Regions from separate parts of the Homo sapiens genome. Here regions 1, 2, 3, 4, 5 and 7 are each linked to region 6. The links are contacts of gene promoters, found by promoter capture Hi-C in blood cells and fetal thymus (Javierre and others, 2016). All regions are on one chromosome and are shown on one strand. Each heading gives the region's core, a stretch centred on a gene start or on the middle of the fragment in contact. The rest is flanking DNA. Distances are from core to core; before and after follow the strand shown.

Region 1 (2,700 bases), core at 181-2,680, 640 kb after region 6:
ATCCCTAGGTAATTTCCTTCCCGTGAGTGGGTGTTGGATCTAGTCACTTCCTTCTAATGAACAGAATATGGCAGAAGTGATAGGGCATCACTTTCTAGTGTAGGTTGTAAAAAGACTGTGGCTTTCATTCCTCTTGAAAACTGGCACAAGACAAGGATGCCCTCTCTCAACACTCCTATTCAACATAGTATTGGAAGTTCTGGGTAGGCCAATCAGGCAACAGAAAGAAATAAAGGGTATTCAAATAGGAAGAGATGAAGCCAAATTGTGTTTGTTTGCAAATGACGTGATCCAATATCTAGAAAACCCCATTGTCTCAGCCCAAAAGCTTCTTAAGTTGATAAGCAATGTCAGCAAACTCTAAGGATACAAAATCAATGTGCAAAAGTCACAAGCATGCCTATACACCAACAACACGCAAGCAGACAGCCAAATCATGAATGAACTCCCATTCACAATTGCTACCAAGAGAATAAAATGCCTAGGAATACAGCTAACAAGGGAAGTGAAAGACTTCTTCAAGGAGAACCAAACCATTGCTCACAGAAATCAGAGAAAATATAAAAGAATAGAAAAACATTCCATGCTCATGGATAGGAAGAATCAATATCATAAAAATGGCCATACTCCCCAAGGAAATGTATAAATTCAATGCTATTCCCATCAAACTACCATTAACATTCTTCACAGAATTAGAAGAAACTATTTTAAAATTCCTGTGGAAACAAAGAAGAGCTTGTATAGACAAGACAATCCTAAGCAAAAAGAACAAAGCTGGAGGCATCACACTACCAGATTTCAAACTATACTACAAAGCTACAGTAACCAAAACAACATTGTACTGGTACAAAAACTGACACATAAACCAATGGAGCAGAATAGAAAACTCATAAATAAAACTACACATTTACAACAATCTGATCTTTGACAGACCTGACAAAAATAGGCAATGGAGAAAGAATTCCCTATTTAATAAATGGTGCTGGGAAAACTGGCTAAACATATGCAGAAAATTGAACCTGGACCTTTTCATTACACCTTATACAAAAATTAACTCAAGATGAAATAACAACCTAAATGTAAAACCCAAAACTGTAAAAACCCTAGAAGAAAACTTAGGCAATACCATTAAGAACATAGGCATGGGCAAAGATTTCATGACAAAATTGCCAAACACAATTGCAACAAAAGCAAAAATTGACAAATGGGAACTAATCAAGCTAAAGAGCCTCTGCAAGCAAAAGAAACTATCATCAGAGTGAACAGGCAATCTACAGAGTGGGAGAAAGTTTTGCAATCTATCCATCTGACAAAGGTCTAATATTCAGAATCTACAAGGAGCTTAAACAAGTTTACAAGAAAAAAACAGACCAGTCCATCAAAAAGTGGGCAAAGGTTATGAACAGACACTTCTCAAAAGAAGACATTCATGCAACCAACAAACGTATTAAAAAAAAAAAAACTCAATATCATTGCTCATTAAAGAAATGCAAATCAAAGCCACAGTAAGATACCATCTCATGCCAGTCAGAATGGCAATTATTAAAAAGTCAAGAAACAACAGATGGCAGCAAAGTTGTGTAGAAATAGGAACAATTTTACACTGTTGGTGGGCATGTAAATTAGTTCAACCATTGTGAAAAAACGGTCTGGTGATTCCTCAAAGATCTAGAACCAGAAACACCAATTGCTCCAAGAATTCTATTTCCGAATATATACCCAAAGGAATATAAATCATTCTGTTACAAAGATACATGCACACGTATGTTCATTGCAGCACTATTCACAATAATAAAACATGGAATCAACCCAAATGCCCAGTCAATTATAGACTGAATAAAGTCAATGATAGACTGGAATCAACCCAAATACTCAGTCAATGATAGACTGGATACAGAAAATGTAATACATATACACCATGGAATACTATGCAGCCATAAAAAGGAACAAGATCATGTCTTTTGCTGAGACATGAATGGAGCTGGAAGCCATTATCCTCAGCAAGCTAATACAGGAACAGTAAACCATACACCACATATTCTCACTTATAAGTGGGAGCTCAACAACAAGAACCCATGGACACAGGGAGGGGAACAACACACACTGGAGCCTGTAGTGGGGTGGGGTTGGGGGAGAGAGAGCATTAGGAAAAGTGGCTAATGAATACTAGGCTTAATACCTAGGTGATGGGTTGATAGGTGCAGTAAACCACCATAATACACATTTACCTATGTAACAAACCTGCACATCCTCCACATGTACCCTGGAACTTAAAGATAATTTTTTTTAAAAAATGACTGTGGCTTCTGTCTTGATCGATCTCTCTCTCTCTCTCTCTCCCTCCCCCCGCCCCCTCTCCTCCCTTTCTTGGATTGCTCACCCCAGGGCAGCAGGTAGTAAGTCAGCCCTGTACAGGGAGCCTACATGGCAAGGAGCCGAGCCTGCCAACAGCCACATGAGTGAGCTTCACCCACTCCCAACTCATCAGACCTTCAGATGACACTGCAGCCCTGGCCCACAATTTGAAGCTTCATGAGAGCCCTTGAATCAGACACACCCAGCTAAGCCACAAATGGATTCCTGGCCCACAAAGATAATAAATATTTGTTGTATTAATCACCTAAATTTTGGAGTAATTTGTTATACAACATAGATAGCAAATATAGTCATCTTATCTAGAAGTCACTTCTCTTTATTATT
Region 2 (2,700 bases), core at 32-2,531, 1.0 Mb after region 6:
CCCAGTCAAGCAATGCTAGATGTTTATTGAACACCATTTATTTTATCAGAGAAACACTAATTGTGATATCCCTATGATTAATGACATATCTAACATGAAACTCAAAATTTGGTCTTCAGACCTATGACATCCATGTCACCTGGGACTTGTTAGAAATACAGAATTGCAGACCTCATCCCAGACATGCTGAGTCATAATTTACAAGATCTCCAGATGATTCATCTGCACATTCAAATTTGGGAAGCAAAATTTTAGCGCCAACTGAGAGAACCAAGGCTCCCTTAGCTGGAGCATGAACTTTGAGCTGAAGCCTTGTGAAAGCTAACCAGCCATGCTGCAGTGTGCCTCCAGATCTGGGCACGTGCATGTTCAGCAACCAACCCAAGATGAAGATGAAAACCACCTATACTCATCTGGATAGCACAGGGTCACTGCTAATATATTTAAAAGTAAATAAGAAATGATTTTAAAATTTCTCTCTTATATAAACTTCAGTAAAAAGATCAGCAGGGGCCTCTGATGAGTAATCATGAAGACCCTAGGTCAATCTTCAAACACTCACGAAATGATGTTTGAAGCCCTTGCGAAGAAATACAAAAAATGAGAGAGAAGAGGTTTAATGAGAAGCATAATTCTAGAATCTACCTCTGGTCCTACTGCCACCAGATCTGTGACTTTAGGCAAGTCACTTAACCCCTTTGAATCTCCATTGTGAAATGGAAATTTAACTGGTTAAATAGAAATTTGACTTGTTAAACAGAAATTATAATAGCTGTCTTATCTACTTCACAAGGTTGTCTACTGATGGATATCATGAAGTAATTCCAGTTTCAAAAGTTGTAAATATATTCTGCAAATATACCACAAAGAACTTGCAGCTTCCTATAGTCACCAAAAGTGTCTAAGCAAAAACTGTAGCCCAGGACCTGAGCTGAGGGATGACTACATTATAACAACTAGGAATTCTTGTCACCTTACTTTTTTAAGTCTTCACGTACATTGCACATTTAATACCTCCAAAATTATGAAGAAAAGTATTATTATTATTCTAATATTGACCTGGACATGAAGGCAGAGAATAAGTGTTATTCCAAAATCAGTATATTTGTCAATCATCATTCTCCATTTTCTCTTCCAATCTGACTCAGACATTTATTTCATAGGCCATAGCTCTCCTTGTGGAAACAACCATCGAAACTGTGACTTCAGACATTTTCAAATTGTGCATACGTGCTTTGAGAAAATGGAATAGTCCTGAGAAGTATGACTCCTAGAGAGATTGCTGTTTCGTAAACGGAATTTAACTCCCAGAGAACTGGACCTCACTTTCTCTCTAGCCCTCCAAGAGAAAGAACTTTAGGTGGAAAAAGACTTCTCAAGGTACAAACAAATTTAGCTATCAAAGTAGGTAATGGTGGAAATGAATGAGAATCATAGTTAATCAGGCAGACTTCACTGTTTTACAAAGAAATTCACATAATTTCCTGAATTTGGTGGATTTGGAACACCCTCCATCCAGATCTCAATTAGGAATAAGGTTTAGGATCATAATATTTTTGTGCTAGAGGTGACCTAGGTGCTGTGAGTTAAACTCTCATGTAACAGGGAAGGGAGATTTGCCTCATGGAGATCGAGTGACTCGTCCAGTTTAAAAATTTAGATATGATAGTTGTGGGATCAGAAAGTAGGACTTCCGAAACCCCATATACAGCTTTTTGTTTGATGTGATTGGAACTTGTTCCTAGGAGTCATGTTTATTAGGTTATAAAAGTGTCACATTATGAGCTGGTTCATTCCAGGCCATGAGCCCAAGTTAAGCCTTACATGGAAGTTCCAGAGGTCACCCTCAGCTCACTTGCTCTATTTTGCAAGGCTTCTAAAATTCCATAGTTATTAATTCTTCTGTGGATTTGATATCACCATGGAAAATATGTACAAATTGGCTCAGTTAAGACTGCATAGAATTGAAGAAGTGAAGGTAGACAGAAAAAAAATGTGAGGAGACGTAAGACAAGTTAGTTTAACTTTTAACCATTTCTCATTAAAAATGAACAGCTAGAACTTCATCAAGACGAACATCATCAAAAAAGGGGGGAAAAACAAACTTCCATATCAAATAAATTAGTCTCCATTAATCAACATATTTGTGACAACTTTTCTCCAATGAAATACTTGATCAATGACTTTCTTCTCTAGGTCTGTAAGTGGATGGCATTGGGACTATGTTTCCTCCTCTTTGTAAGGGCCAATCACAGATGGCTGGTATTTCGCATTCTATTTTCCATTGCCCCTGGGCTCCAACCGGCCCAGATGTCTCTTCCAAGAGTTGACGGTTAAAAGACTAAGATCAGTCCCAATATGTGGCCACTATTTTAATAAATATTTTCCTACTCATAGAAATATTCATCGATGCTTCTTTAACATTGAAAAGAGAGATTTACATTTTTAAATGTTGCATTTTGAATTAGGTTATAGAAGAATAACACGATGACCAATTTTCCACTTGCCGTTGGTTATTTGACTACTAATTTGATTGTAGAATTGTTCTTATGTTGTAGTCGTTGTTTAGGCTAAACTAAGCATTCAAGTGGGTTTTAAATTGCTGCTTTCAAATTGACTCACAGTCAAAATATACAGAAAATACGTTATACAGTTACTAATCAGATTCAGTAGTATTTTTAAAAATCCTTATATTCTATT
Region 3 (2,700 bases), core at 36-2,535, 670 kb after region 6:
TCTTCAGCTCAGTTCAAGATTCTGTCATTAAAAACTGTGCGGTCTTAGGGGATGTTAGGAACCATTAGAAGCCTCGGGTGGTCTCCTACAGGGCAACAGTGAGAATCAACACTGCTGATAATCCTATAATTTGGGGCTAACACATGGTAAGTACTTTACAGCACGTGTGATTGTCTCTGCTACTACTGTGCTATTTGCTATTGTCACCTCTTGTGGTAGGAGGCATTATTTGCCGTAAATCTTCATCTCTCCTGCATCCACACCCTCTCCAAGGTAAGGTGGGTGTGAGCTATTTTCTTGCCCCTTTACTTTGGGCTGGAGCATTCAACTTTGTTTCACCAATAGCCTCTAGAAGAAGGGATTGTTTTCCGGTTTTGAGCCTAGGAATCAAGAAGCCTTGTGTGTTTCCACGTTCCCTCTTATTTTTCTGCCAATGACATGAGGAGAAGTCCCCCTGGGTCACTACTGTGCTGCAGCCTTGGCTCAAAACAAGCATGGTGGAGTCGAGCCCTCCTTGCCCACCCACAGACTAGCACTGAGAGCAAAACTACCTGGGCCAAGGCAGCCTGGAGCAAAACTGCCTGGCAAAGCCCAGCCCTGACCAGCTGAACCCAGAGAACACACAGGCACATGAGCAACAGCAAATGACTGCTGGATTATGCAATTGATATGAGGATGTTTTGTTATGCAGCTATAGCTAACTGATACATTATTCCTGATAATTTCAATACCAGAGGCTGTTGAATAAGCAAAAGCCTGATGGAGGGGCTATGTAGGGTGGAAACTGGAAACAGTGGGAAAACAGGGTATGGAAAACAGAACAGTGGGAACTAAGGATTAAAAGGCATGGAGATTACGGAGTTCCCTGAGGATAAAGCTAAGGAGCCCAGGCTTTACCCATTTTACAGTGGTAGCCCCTGGAGGCTTTAAGGAGGTTGAGGTGAGCAAGAAGAAGTTTAGGAGAGGTGATAGGACTGCAGCTCCTTCTTATGCGGGCCACACAGAACAGGGCCGGCCACTTGGCACCACAGCTCCCTACACCTTCCTCCCATCAGGCCCGGAGAGGCTGGTCGGTTGGTGGTCTCCCTTCCTTTCCCTGTCCAGAGGGACAGGGAAATGCTCCCGATTTTAGCATTGATAAATACACCAAGGGGCAGTGAGGTGGCAGCCCGGACCCTCTCTCCTTCTCTGACAAATCCACTGTCCTGGACATTGTCTAGACATGGGACTGTGGCTAAACAAAAGTAACAGACACTAAACCAATGATCTGCACTTTGTCCCTATATTGTCAGCAGCTCCAGCAGCCTAAGGGCTATCCTCTGAAGCAGAGTCACAGAGCCGAGTGTAGCAAGAAAAGGCTCGGTGATGCCTGGGGAGGCGACGCCGGCAGTCAGAAGAATCCAAAGGAGCCTTGACAGCGTCACTGCAGACAAACCTGTCTCCACTGACTGCCCTACTCAGACTCTGCCTGTCTGTGGTGGCCCACTCTCCTCGGGGTGGATCGGCCTAAGAGTTTCATTAAAATCAAGGGGACGGGGATTGTGGGTAGTGTTGGGACCCAGTAAAGCCCTGGGCTTAATGGATCAGAACCAAAACCCCAGCTCCACATGGGCAGCCCTCAGTTTTCATGGGTCAGCCCTTTCTGAGAAACCCAGCCAGGGAGGAGCACAGGACCAGCAGCAGGGGATGCTTCTAAACCCATATCTCACTGGATAAGCTCATCACCTTCCAAGCCTCTGAAGAACATTTACGTTCCTATAAGTTTCTGAAGCCACGTTCAAATCGTAGCTCTACCACCAATGAGCTGCACGTTGGAGGGGAAGTGAATTCACCCCAGACCTGAGTTCCACATCCCTAGACTGGGTGAGAGGGCCTCTGCCCAGGCTCTCCATGAGGATGACCTGCACCGTGTGCCTTTAATGCACTTAGAACAGCAGGTGCCTCAGTAAACGCTCACTGCCATTCTGCGATCATTATTGCATTCACTTCCTGGGGCTGCTGCAACAAAGTACCACACCCTGGGGGCGAAAACAACAGACCCTGACCGTGCCGATGCTGGAAGTCTGAGATCAAGGTGTGGGCAGGGCTGGTTCCTTCCGAGGACTGTGAGGAAGACTGTTCCACGCCTCTCTGCAGCTCCGGGTGGTTTGCAGGCAACCTTTCCATTGCTGGCTTTGCAGACACATCACCCAGTCTCTGCCCTCATGTTCACATGGCTCTCTCCCTGTGTGTGTGTGTCTGCGTCCCAGCCTCCCCTGTTTATAAGGACATAGTGGCATTACATGACTACTATTACTCTGATAGGGCCTCATCTTAACTAACTACATCTGCAAATAACCCATTGCCACATAAGGTAGCATTCTGAAGTACTAGGGGCTAGGACATCAACATAGGAATTTGGGGAGCACATAATTCAACCCATGATAATGATTATCGTGATTATTATTAAGAATATATAACCACTGTAGGATGAAAGCAAATACTGTAAAATCCTACTCATAGGTTTGCAGGGATTAAATGGCATCACTGGAAAATTGTCTGACACAAAGAAGGGGTTCAACAAATGTTGTTTTACTTCCTCACTGTCAGCCTAAATATAGAAAGTATTTGCTCATTGGCCCGACAGACAAGTTTTGACTTCTAGTTTTATACCAGCTTTATGTATACATGCTTATATGTCGTATGTGACATTTTGTACAT
Region 4 (2,700 bases), core at 131-2,630, 950 kb after region 6:
CCACAACATTTTTAATTAGTTTTTTCTCAGGCTAAGTCAGCATTCATCACTGGGTGAACGAACATCAGACTTTGTTCATAATGGAGGCTTTTGAGTGTGCAGAAAAATATTCCAAGACAATTGCAGGCATCTGAACTCATATTTCACCCCCACTTTCTTGTACCCAAAAGTTCAATGTGGAAAATGAAAGCATAAAATGAGATTCTTTTATGGAGAAAAGTTGATGGCATAAATAGAGTAAGGGGGTGAGGGAGTATATACATATTTTTAATTTGAGCTATTCTAGAAACTTTGCCCACAGTAGAGCAAATAATAATAATAATAATATTCTGAATGAAATAAAAGGTGAAGAAAATTTGGCAGAAATGAATAGTTTTAATTACAAAAATAAAGAATATTCTTGTAGGACCTGTTTATGCATTTACCTTTATAGCCCACAAAATATTTTTTAAGTAAATAATTATCTATTTATATTCACATAGAATAATACAAAGCTTTAACGAAGACCGCAGAAGAACTTCATATCTGAGTACCATTTGCAATCGATTTACAAATAATGCCAGCATCCTTAGCGACTTCTTCAGGCAAGGTTATACTGGGGGTTTTTGAGGCTAAGCAGGTAAGAGTGCTAACATAAATGAGAAGAAAGTACCTCATTGTTACCAAAACTGTAGCCAGGCTTTCCACGTGGGGTTTGAAAAGAGATTGACATGTTGCCCTCACTGGAAGGAGAGTAAAATCAAGTTTGTGTGGGGTGGGAGGAGAGGTTGTATGTATCTGAGGAAGTCAGGCTGTTGAAATGCTTTTCCTCAGTGTCCTGTGTTCACATACAGGTGAACTGGGAGTACCGCACACAGCATGGCTTCCAGCCTGAAGTGACTGTAAAATGCCAGTGAATAGAGAGGCTCAAGGCTGAGTAAAGGATCCTGCACACTCAACAGGCTCATCCTTCTCTGCACCCGAGTTGTTCATAGAGTCCCAGTTACAGAGCTTTCAGAAGGCGGAATTCGTCCACAGCACACTATTGATGCCTATCGAATCTAAGGAAATTAACTAAGAAGGGAAGAAATAATCTTCATAGAAAAGGGATTTGAGAACCCAGAAGAGGGTATGGGCCTGGCAGTGTGCATGCTGCAAACTATGCACCATCACTGGCCTAAAACGCACCTCTGTGTGCATCATTTACTCACGTTTAAAAATCACCCTCTACTTGTTCTCCTGTGACCCTCATTGGACTATATCCAGACAGCACTGAAAGTGATAGCCAGAAAAAGTAGAAACAACCCATGTGTTCATCCACTGACGAATGGATCAAAACATGTGGCGTGTCCATCCATACAAGGGGATATTACCCAGCAGTCAAAAGGAGCAAAGAACTGATGTATACCACACCATGGCTGATTCTCAACAGTATGTTCAGTGAAAGAAACCAGTCACAAAAGCACATGTACTGTATGTCTATTTATATGAACTGCTTGGAGGAGGCACCTAGTGGTTGCCAGGGGCTTGGGGTGGGGGTGGAGGGCAGGAATGGGGAATGCCTGCCCCCTCCATGGGGTTTCTTTGTGGGGTGATTAAAATGTTCTAAAATTGGTATGGTGATGGTTGCATGAGTCTGTGAATACACTAAAACCACTGAGTGGTACACTTTAAACAGGTAAATGTTATGGTATATGAATCAAATCTCAATGAAGCTGTTAGAGAAAAAAAACAAAAGGAAGCAAAACCTGACATCTAGAGTGTTATGGAGCCAAAATGAGCTTTCAAAAAGAATTGCATAGGCCCCTGAGGAACCATGGAAAGCAACATGAACGTGAACTCCAAGCAGGCCATGGGCCATCTCCAACCGATTCCACCCAGGTGAAGGGAGCAGGTGTCAGGATCAAATCCTGACTTAAAATTGGTAAATATTTGTTGGTTATCTATGCTGTACTAGGCATCGTGGCCCACAAGGGAGAACAAAATTTCTTGTGGAGCTCACAGTCTAGGAGAGAGGCGAATATATGCAATTAGCCAGACCACAAGTGGCACAACCATGCATGTCATTAACAGTGGGCTTGGAAGTGCAAGGGGCATCCACTTACCTCTGGGAATCCCTGCTGCAGAGCAGGGAAATCAGACAACAAGTTTTCTAAGTTTAGATTTTATTCTGTAGGTCATGAAGAGTCTCCAAAGTTTCTTTAGAAGAAAAGTGATAAGATATTTAACAGAACCCAATGTTAGGTTCTGTGCTGGATCCCAGCACAAACGCACGAACGCAAGCTTGAGGATCCATGATTCAGCAAACCTTCAGGTCCAGGGAAAGCACCTGGAAGCTTCTCCCTTTGCAGCATTGTTGTAGGTTGAAGGGATTGTGTGGTTCTCCAAACACCTAGCAAGATTCTGGATTGCATGAATACTATTAAGCCTCAGATGCAAGTTGGAGTAAGTTTACCATTCTGAGACCTGAAGATCACATCTGAAGGCCTCATTCAAGCCTAGATACCTCATTTCCAAGGACCACATATAGAGGAATATGGGCAGGACTTGGGAAGAGCCAATAATTACAGAATATAGAGAAAGGTGGAAGAAAATATGAAAAACCCACTTAGCCAGGGCAGGTATCCAGCCTTACCAAGCCCCTGCTATGGACTGGGTGCTGTGTATCACTACCAGCATTACTTCATTTAATCCTCAGAACCCTAAAAGGGAGAAGATGGG
Region 5 (2,700 bases), core at 90-2,589, 650 kb after region 6:
CCTTGAGATGTGCTTAGGCATCCAAGTGGAAAGGTTGAGTAGGCAGTTGGGTATATAAATCTGGAATTTAGGAAAAGATTTAGGTTAAAAATATAAACATGGAAGTTATAGCATACCAATGGTATTTAAAGCTATGAGACAAAATGGGGTCATCAAAGGGGAGTGTCTTTAAAAAGAAGACAAAGAGCTGACATTACAAGGTCATGGACAAAGGAGAAACTGGCAAAGGTGACAGAGAAAACAAAGCAGTGTGTGGTGTCCTAGAAGCCAAATGCAGAAAATGTTTCAAGGAGTTGGAAGCACTCAATAAATCTTTTCCAATGCTGCTGAAGGGTCAAATCGGATGAGGACTGAGAATGGACCTTTGGCTTCAGCAACATGGAGGTCAAGGTGATCTTGACAAGAGCAGTTAGTTGAGTTCAAGGATTCTAGTCTGATGAGAGTGGAATCAAAAGAAAGTGGGAAGCAATGAATTAATGACAGCAAGTGACATCTTTCAGAGTTTTGTCTCAAATGGAAAGCAAAGAAATGTACATAAGCTGGAGGAAGAAGGGTCATGAGAGTGATCTTCAGATGAGAGAAATTATATAAGCTTGTTGAGTGATGGGAATGATCCAATACAAAGCCAACAGCTGGCAACGTAGGAGAGAGAGGGTAGAATCCCTAACAAAGCTGAGACCTCGTGCACTAGAGAGAAAGGTGGTGTTACTTTGCGAAAGAGGCAAGAAGGCAGAAGTGAAGGTGCAAAGAAAGGTGGATGAGTAAAGGTGGCAGTGACTGTCTTTGGAACTTATCTGGTTACTTAAATTTTTCCAGTAAAGGTAGAAGCTGAGAGAGAGAATGGGGTAAGAGATATGGGGAATTGAGAAGAGAAGAGAAGAGAAGAGAAGAGAAGAGAAGAGAAGAGAAGAGAAGAGAAGAGAAGAGAAGAGAAGAGAAGAGAAGGTGTGACATGGCCATTTAGAGAACATGAGAGAGGAGGGACATGCAACGGCACTGCCAGGCAGCATGAAGGGCCTCAGGTTTTCACAGCCATGAAGTTGAAGCCAGACATGCGGCCGTGGTGTGTGCTTCCCTGCAGGCATGTTCAGCTGCACCAAAGTAGGCAAGGAGTAGGCAGATTTGATTTCACCAGGGTTGTGGGTTGCCAAGCTAGGAGGAGAGAGGAGCAAGGTGGTGTTGATAGTGACTGACCACGAGATTGGAGCTGGGAAAGTGGGGGTGAGGAATAGTAGAAAGGAGGATTTCTGCTTCCAACAAAGATGGAGTAACAGGAATCAGAGCTACCCTCCCATCTTAAAGAACTAAATAACTGGTTCTCTCTCTCTCTCTCTCTCTCTCTGTGTGTGTGTGTGTGTGTACACATATGTACAGGACCCAGTGATCTCCCTGAGTTTAGAAGATGGAGCTGGGAATCTGGGGAGGCTACAGCGGTAGAATCCCAGAGAGGTCCACTGCATAGATAGAGAACTCTAGAAGACTGAAAGAGGCACAGAGAGCTAGAGGGCCACAGAGAGACACAGAGGGCCACAGAGAGTCACAGAGGGTTACAGAGGACTGCAGAGGGCCACAGAGGGCCTCGTGGAGCTGCAGAGGGCCGGAGAGGGCTGCAGAGATCCACAGACGGCCACAGAGGGCCCAGAGTCCTCTATAGGTCTTCAGCAGAGCATACTTGAGTGTGAGGCAAGTGGGCAAGGCTGAAGAAGAACCATCAGAAAGGAGAGGAGGGGACAGCCTGCAGCACTCATGCAGGTAAAACAGCGAGTGTTTTACCACTGCTCTTCTGCAAAGCCTCCTAACACACAGGCATCAGTAGAGTACTCAGAAGGTTATTATCTCAACAGAGGGGCAAAATCGGGCTACTCTGGCCTTATTGAGCAAAACTTAAAAGCAAGATCCTAAAAGATCAAAAATTGTTTTCTTATTTTTTTTTTTAAGACAGGGTCTCACTTTGTTGCTTAGGCTGGATTTGAACTCCTGGGCTTAAGCAATCCACCTGTCTCGGCCTTACAAGCAGCTGGGACTACAGGCTCTCATCACAGCACCCAGCCTCTGTCCCCTTACCTACATCCCAGAACAAAGCTTTAATTTTTTTGTATTAAAATAATATAAAAATATTCAGGACCAACAAGGTGAAATGTGGTAGGATCAATGGGATGAATATCCTAGTAGGCTTGCAGGATTGCTGGCCTTAGAATTCTAGAGAAAGTAAACTAGAAATATGGTCAGAAAGGGAAGTCCTTAAAAGTAAGATAGTAGCAGAGCTGTAGTTATTGCTAATGACATCTCAAATCAATGATAAAAGTGAGTGGAGGATAGGATGGGTGAAGAATCAGGGTTCAATAACTGAGAGGCCAGGTTCTACAAAGAATCATGTGTGCACACACTGAAACTATTAAGAATGAAGATAGATGCAATATTGGAGAGAATGACAGCAAGCCAGGATCATTAATCATCTAGAACAGCATCATCCATTACAACAGTCATTAGCTGTGCATGGCTATTTCCATTTTAATTTTTAAACTTTAACTGCTGTTAAATAAAGTTTAAAAAAATACGTCCTTAGTTGCAGCAGCTAGATTTCAAGTGCTCAGTAGCCACACGAGGCAGGTGGCTATCATTTTGCACAAGCAGTTATGGAATCTTTCTATCATGGCACGAAGTTCTATTGAACAGCGCTGGCCTGCGTTTGGGGAAATA
Region 6 (2,742 bases), core at 134-2,633:
CTCCTATATACCTTCATCATCTGTAGGTAACTTATAATACCTAATACAATGTAGATGGGATGTAAATAGTTGTTATACTGTATAGTTTAGGAAATAATGACAAGAAAAAAAAAGCCTCTACATGTTCAGTACAAACGCATTTTTCTTTTTCTGAAGAATATTTTTGATTTGAGGTTGGTTGAATCCACCCCACGCGGAACCCACGACTAAGAAGCGCTGTGTTTGCTAAGGGCTTCACACAAATTACCTCATTTAAATGTTACCACAAATGGATGAAAAAGGTATTACTATAACAATTTTACAAATGAGAAAAGGGAAACCTAGGGCTGGATCAAAGTAACGACGGTTAAGTACACTCCTGATCTATCGTTTACAAGACTAGACTGAGGGCTGAAATTTTGTCAATACAACGCTGTCCTTGTACTCGCGTAAGCAAGTCTCCATGAGCACAACTCCAGGACTGCTAGAGTGGGAATTTTCTCCCAGGGACCCCATTTCTCTTTGGCTGGAATTCCCGATCTCCACCTCACTCCTCCTCCCTCCATGGCACCAGTCCCCCCATCATCTCAGAAATGCCCCTCTTCTCCGCCCCTGGCTGTCTTTCCAAACACAATCTAACAACTGGCCACGCCCCCACACACCATAGAAGGACCATCTCCACTTACGGTTTTCAGCTACCTATGAGGTCGTCAGTCCCGCTGTCTGTGTCAAATCAGAAAAAGAACCTGACCGTGAGGACTAGAGTAAGAGGCTGTGAAGACTGCCGCCTCCTCGCACGACCCACACCGTCGAGTGTCCGGAGATGGACGGGAAAAGCTACCACAGTGGCATGGCCTTATTTCCTGTGAGTCGCCTTTAATTCAAACCTAGACAGACGCACGCCCTGCCCGGCCCTCCTCAGACCCGAGAGCTGCGCTGTGAGGGGACGCGCCTCCCCTCGTTGATGAGAATTCGCTGCCACGCTTTTTGCACAGGCGAGAGCCTCACCGCGGCGGCAACTCTACCACGTGGACAAAGGCACAGCCGTGTCTCATTCTCGACAATGGAGGAGGGCGTGGGGTATGCACTAGGGGCTGTCTCGGGGGTCAGACCGCCGGGGGACGGCAACGTACCTGCGCGGCGACGTCCAGGGTCAGCGCGGGCCGCGGCCCCCACGGTCGGGACGCCCCCCGCGTGGGACGCAGTTCCACTGAGGGGCCGGCCGCGGAGGTCACAAGGTGGGCCCACCGAAGCCTCTGGTAGGGGCACGGGAAGAGCCGCCTTTCTCTCCTCCTCCTCCTTCTTGGAGGCTTACTCTGGGTCACCGGGGCCCCAGAGCCGGGGGACTTTCCGGCGCAGTTCCGCGGCTTCCCGCGCGCGGCCAGCCGGTCTCCACGCAGACGCGAGCGCCCCGGCGCCGCCCTCTCCCGCATTCCCGTGACGGGCAGCGAAGTCAGCCAGTGGGACTGCGGGCCGGAAGGCTAACTCCGCCCATGTGTGGCTTATAAGAGGCGGTAGCTTCCGGGAGTGTCACTTTCCCAGAAATCCCGGCAAATCCGCCCTAGAGTTTTCGTTGGTCCAACCGGGCCACAGACTCCGGCCCGTCTGGTTAGGTGGGATGCCTGATTGGGCCAAACCTCTTAGGTCCCGCACCTAGAGCGGGGAGTAGCGTCTGCTTTTTTTTCCGCTGAGCGGAGGCCGCTAGGCTGGAGAGGGAGGGGAAGGTGTGTGGGGTCGGGTGAGATGCTTTCCCCTCGTCCCGCATGCGCCTGTATTGGAGTGATTTCAGTTAAAAGTCTCGTGAAACGTCACCAGTGATGTAGTCACGGCCAGCAGCAGCTGCCTGACCCCGCCGAGGCCTTCCGTCTGGCAACATGTGGGGCGCCGCAATGCTTGAGGCCACGGCGAGGGCAACGCCGGCCGCGCCCCGTGGAAACCGCGTGGCGGAGTGCTTGAGCCGATCGCGCTCTTTAGGAGTTAGGCCACTTAGAGGCGACATCTTGGTGGACACGGAGGAAGCCAGTTTTAGTCAGATGGGAAAAGTAGCTAAAAGTGGGAGGAGACTGGGGCGAGGGTGGGACGTGGGGGAGGCGGGGGCGTGACGGCGGCTCTCCACTGCCCTGAGGCTTGAGGGGCCCCGGGAAACCCGGGCCCGGCTGGGGTTGGGACTCTGTTCTTCCGCGTTCATAGCTACGATTCAGCTGTTCTGGAATGAGAACTGGATTTTTACTGAACTTTACGAACAGGCTCAACAGGATGTAACCATTCAGTGTGGAGGCATGAGAAACTATAGCTTGTAAATTAAAAGAAAAACCTCATTTCTTTAGACAACATTTTCAGCTCCATCTGCTGGTCTGAGGCTGAATAATTAATTGAAAAGCCAGGAGAGAAATGGGGCTAGATGAAGTGAGGTAGTTTAACCTGTGCTTTCTTGGCGTCCCGTCGGCTCCCTTTGCTTGCATTCCTAAGAGAATCTTGGTCTCAGATTTCAGGACAAGTGGAAAACAGTTGGGCTATTTAGTATAGGCCACCCCTTCCCCCCCGCACCCTCTCCCCCCACACACTTCAGTTAAGTAGGTGGAAAGTTTGGATTATTAAAAAGACACGTTGGAGGCTGAGCAGAGAGTGTGAAAGAGCATTTTCGGGGCTTTGTGAACTAACATGGCCTTTTGAACCCCAAGGCAGTGATACTTGGATTGATCTAAATCAGCGTGGATGGAATGGAAGTGGGAATGCGTTGATTTACTGCACGCTCAGTAGTTT
Region 7 (2,700 bases), core at 195-2,694, 610 kb after region 6:
TGCTTGGGCAGCCACTCTGAACAGATTTCCTCTTGGGTGACTTTACATTTAATCTAAGATCTGAGCAACAAGAAGAAGCCTACTCTGCAAAGATCAAGTTCAATGGCATTCCTTGGTGAGGAAATAACTAGTGCTAAGCCTAGAAACAAGCACGGGCTTGTGGTGGTGTAGGCTGCTGAAGCTGCAACTTGGAGACAAGATCAGAAGGGAGGACAAGGGTGAGACCAAGTAGAGTAAGTGAACCCAGATAAGTGCTTGGACTGCATTCTAAGCAATGGGACATGGTTGTTGGAAAGTCTGAAGTAGGAAAGCAATGTGATCCATGCTTTTAAAAAATCTCCTTGTGTCTCTGTGGGATTAAAACATACAGAGCAATGACTGAATCAGTATATGCCTTAGGAGACTACAGACTCTTCCAGTGTTCTAGAAGCTTGGACTAAGGTAGTGAGAATTCACAGAAGTGAAGGATTCAGGATATCTATATATGTAAGGAAAGGAAGACTTACTGGTGTGAAAGAAGAAGAGAATTCAGAGAGGTTGCATAGACTTTTGGCTTTAGCAAAAAATGAATCAATTTTGGATATTGTTTGCAGAAATGAAATGATAAATATTCTAGGTAGATTGGGGGAATACACCTGGAGTTCTGTTTGGGCCATTACAGACATGTTCCCTATAGACATCCATGAAGATTTGGGTTTATGGGTTTAGGTGAGAGGAGCGGGTGGAAATTTTGGAGTCTTTTCATGTAGAGGATTTGAAGTCTGAGGCCTAAATATTGTCACTCAGAGAGTTTGCAGATAAAGAAGGAAAGGGTGCCCAGGAAAGAGCACTTCAGCATTTGGAGGATGAGTAGAGGAGAGTATAAGGAAAAAGTACTCAAGGAGGTAGGGGATCTACCAAGGAAAGAAAGTATTACAGGAAGAGGGCAGTAGTTGCTGAGTGGTTGCTCAACTGTTGCTAAGATTATGTGGAATAATAGAAAGTGGCTGTTGAATTTAGAAACACAAAGATCTTGGTGTCTATGAAGAGTCTTTTTTTTTTTTTTCGAGATGGAATCTGGCTCTGTTGCCCATGCTGTAGTGCAGTGGTGCGATCTTGGCTCACCACAACCTCTGCCTCCCGGGTTCAACCAATTCTCCTGCCTCAGCCTCCTGAGTAGCTGGGATTACAGGCAAGTGCCACTGCTTTGTCCGACTAATTTTTTTTTTATTTTATTTGTATTTTTTTAGTAGAGACATGGTTTCACCATGTTGATCAGGCTGGTCTTGAACTCCTGGCCTTAGGTGGTCCAACTGCCTCAGCCTCCCAAAGTGCCAGGATTACAGGTGTGAGCCACTGCACCCGGCCTCCATGTAGAGTCTTAATGGAGTGATGGAGTGAGCTGACAAGAGAATGAGAGGTGAGTATGAACAGATGGAACCCTTGAGAAGCTATAACATAGGGAGTGAAGAACCAGCGCTGGCTCGGGAGAAATATGAGACCAGGAAAAATCTTTTCTGCATGGAAGATACTAGAATATGTTTACCTGCTGATGGGAATGGTCTAGTAAAGAAAAGAGGGCATTGTTTCAGGAGAAAGGGAACAACTAAAGGAGGGAGGTCCTGAGGCTATGAGAATAGATGTGGTTCAGGCCATGTCAGAAGGGGCTGGCTTCCATGAAACTATCCCAGGAGCGGAAGAAGAAAAAAAGGCTTGGCCCAGATGCCAGCCGATATATGGGTGGTACCTTGAGGCTATTACCAACTGAGGAGTTGCTTTCAGTTTCTCAGTACAGTATGAGGCTGAGTTATTAGCCAGCAGTTGCCCTATACTTAAAATGAGAGGGCTGAGACATTATTTTTTTAACAAACTTTATTTTTAGAGAAGTTTAAGATTCACTGAAAAATGAATAGACAAGTACAGAGTTCCTATACACCCCTCACTCCCACATCTGCGCAGTCTCTTCCACTATCAACATCCCCCACCAAAGCAGTACATTTGTTACAATCCAGGAACCTACACTGATACATCATTATCACCCAAAGTCCATAGTTTACATTGGGGTTCACTCTTGGTGCTGTATATTCAATAGATTTGTATTCAATAGACATATATCCAACACTGTAGTATTCTACAGATCAGTTTTCACTGCCCTAAAAATTATCTGTGCTCCATCTATTCATCCCTCCCTCTCCTCAACCCCTGGCAATCATTGATCTTTTCATTATCCACATAGTTTTACCTTTTTCAGAATGTCATGTAGTTGGAATCATTCACTATGTAGCCCTTTCAGATTGGCTTCTTTCACTTAGCTATATACACTTAAGGTTCCTTCATGTCTTTTCACAGCTCAATAGCTCATTTTTTAAGTGCTAAATATTATTCCATTGTCTGAATGTTTCACAATCTATTTATCCATTCACTTGCTGAAGGACATCTTGGTTCCTTCAAAGTTTTGGCCATTATGAATAAAGCTTCCATAAACATCTGTGTGAAGGTTTTAGTGTAGACATAAGTTTTCAACTCATTTGGGCAAATACCTAGGATCACAACTGCTGAATTCCATGTTGAGTATGTTTAGTTTTGTAAGTAATCACCAAACCATCTTGCAAAGTAGTTGTACCATTCTGCATTCTCAGCAGCAATGAATGAGAGTTTCTGTTGCTCAACATCCTCGCCATATTTGGTGGTGTCAGTGTTTTGGATTTTTATTCTAATGAA

What was found. The method cuts DNA at HindIII sites, captures the fragments that hold promoters and counts their contacts. A CHiCAGO score of 5 or more calls a contact.
Region 1: a contact is called between a fragment that was not itself captured here and the fragment with the promoter of NXT1 in region 6, in 1 of 17 cell types (endothelial precursors). The highest score is 5.3, in endothelial precursors.
Region 2: a contact is called between a fragment that was not itself captured here and the fragment with the promoter of NXT1 in region 6, in 2 of 17 cell types (M1 macrophages and M0 macrophages). The highest score is 7.2, in M1 macrophages.
Region 3: a contact is called between a fragment that was not itself captured here and the fragment with the promoter of NXT1 in region 6, in 2 of 17 cell types (monocytes and megakaryocytes). The highest score is 8.7, in monocytes.
Region 4: a fragment that was not itself captured here is called in contact with the fragment with the promoter of NXT1 in region 6 in 1 of 17 cell types (naive B cells); the score reaches 6.0 in naive B cells.
Region 5: a fragment that was not itself captured here is called in contact with the fragment with the promoter of NXT1 in region 6 in 10 of 17 cell types (M0 macrophages, M1 macrophages, endothelial precursors and 7 more); the score reaches 26.0 in M0 macrophages.
Region 7: a contact is called between a fragment that was not itself captured here and the fragment with the promoter of NXT1 in region 6, in 2 of 17 cell types (M2 macrophages and M1 macrophages). The highest score is 5.9, in M2 macrophages.

Annotation. Positions count from the first base shown.
Region 1 is chr20:22,712,387-22,715,086 of GRCh38, reverse strand. No RefSeq gene overlaps it. Among named protein-coding and RNA genes, the nearest start is that of LINC01747, 28 kb to the right of the region's middle. The HindIII fragment of the contact is 2,200 bases long and covers 331-2,530 here.
Region 2 is chr20:22,351,321-22,354,020 of GRCh38, reverse strand. No RefSeq gene overlaps it. Among named protein-coding and RNA genes, the nearest start is that of LINC01427, 70 kb to the right of the region's middle. The HindIII fragment of the contact is 3,691 bases long and covers 1-2,700 here.
Region 3 is chr20:22,676,853-22,679,552 of GRCh38, reverse strand. The region is part of intron 2 of LINC01747 (long intergenic non-protein coding RNA 1747); the gene reads left to right. Among named protein-coding and RNA genes, the nearest start is that of LINC01747, 7.1 kb to the left of the region's middle. The HindIII fragment of the contact is 3,781 bases long and covers 1-2,700 here.
Region 4 is chr20:22,399,245-22,401,944 of GRCh38, reverse strand. It overlaps LOC284788 (a long non-coding RNA gene), which reads left to right. Exons shown (of 3, transcript NR_027090.1): 2 at 483-619; 3 at 834-1,612. Among named protein-coding and RNA genes, the nearest start is that of LINC01427, 120 kb to the right of the region's middle. RefSeq lists an enhancer at 1-70. The HindIII fragment of the contact is 1,768 bases long and covers 497-2,264 here.
Region 5 is chr20:22,695,348-22,698,047 of GRCh38, reverse strand. No RefSeq gene overlaps it. Among named protein-coding and RNA genes, the nearest start is that of LINC01747, 11 kb to the right of the region's middle. The HindIII fragment of the contact is 1,490 bases long and covers 595-2,084 here.
Region 6 is chr20:23,349,432-23,352,173 of GRCh38, reverse strand. It overlaps NXT1 (nuclear transport factor 2 like export factor 1), which reads right to left and starts at 1,383. Exons shown (of 2, transcript NM_013248.3): 1 at 1,113-1,383. NXT1-AS1 (NXT1 antisense RNA 1) reads left to right here and starts at 707. Exons shown (of 3, transcript XR_937384.2): 1 at 707-844. RefSeq lists enhancers at 532-581, 638-1,509, 1,448-1,742, 1,662-1,801, 1,510-2,382 and silencers at 1,072-1,341, 1,962-2,091. The HindIII fragment of the contact is 12,471 bases long and covers 1-2,742 here.
Region 7 is chr20:22,741,043-22,743,742 of GRCh38, reverse strand. No RefSeq gene overlaps it. Among named protein-coding and RNA genes, the nearest start is that of LINC01747, 57 kb to the right of the region's middle. The HindIII fragment of the contact is 2,023 bases long and covers 433-2,455 here.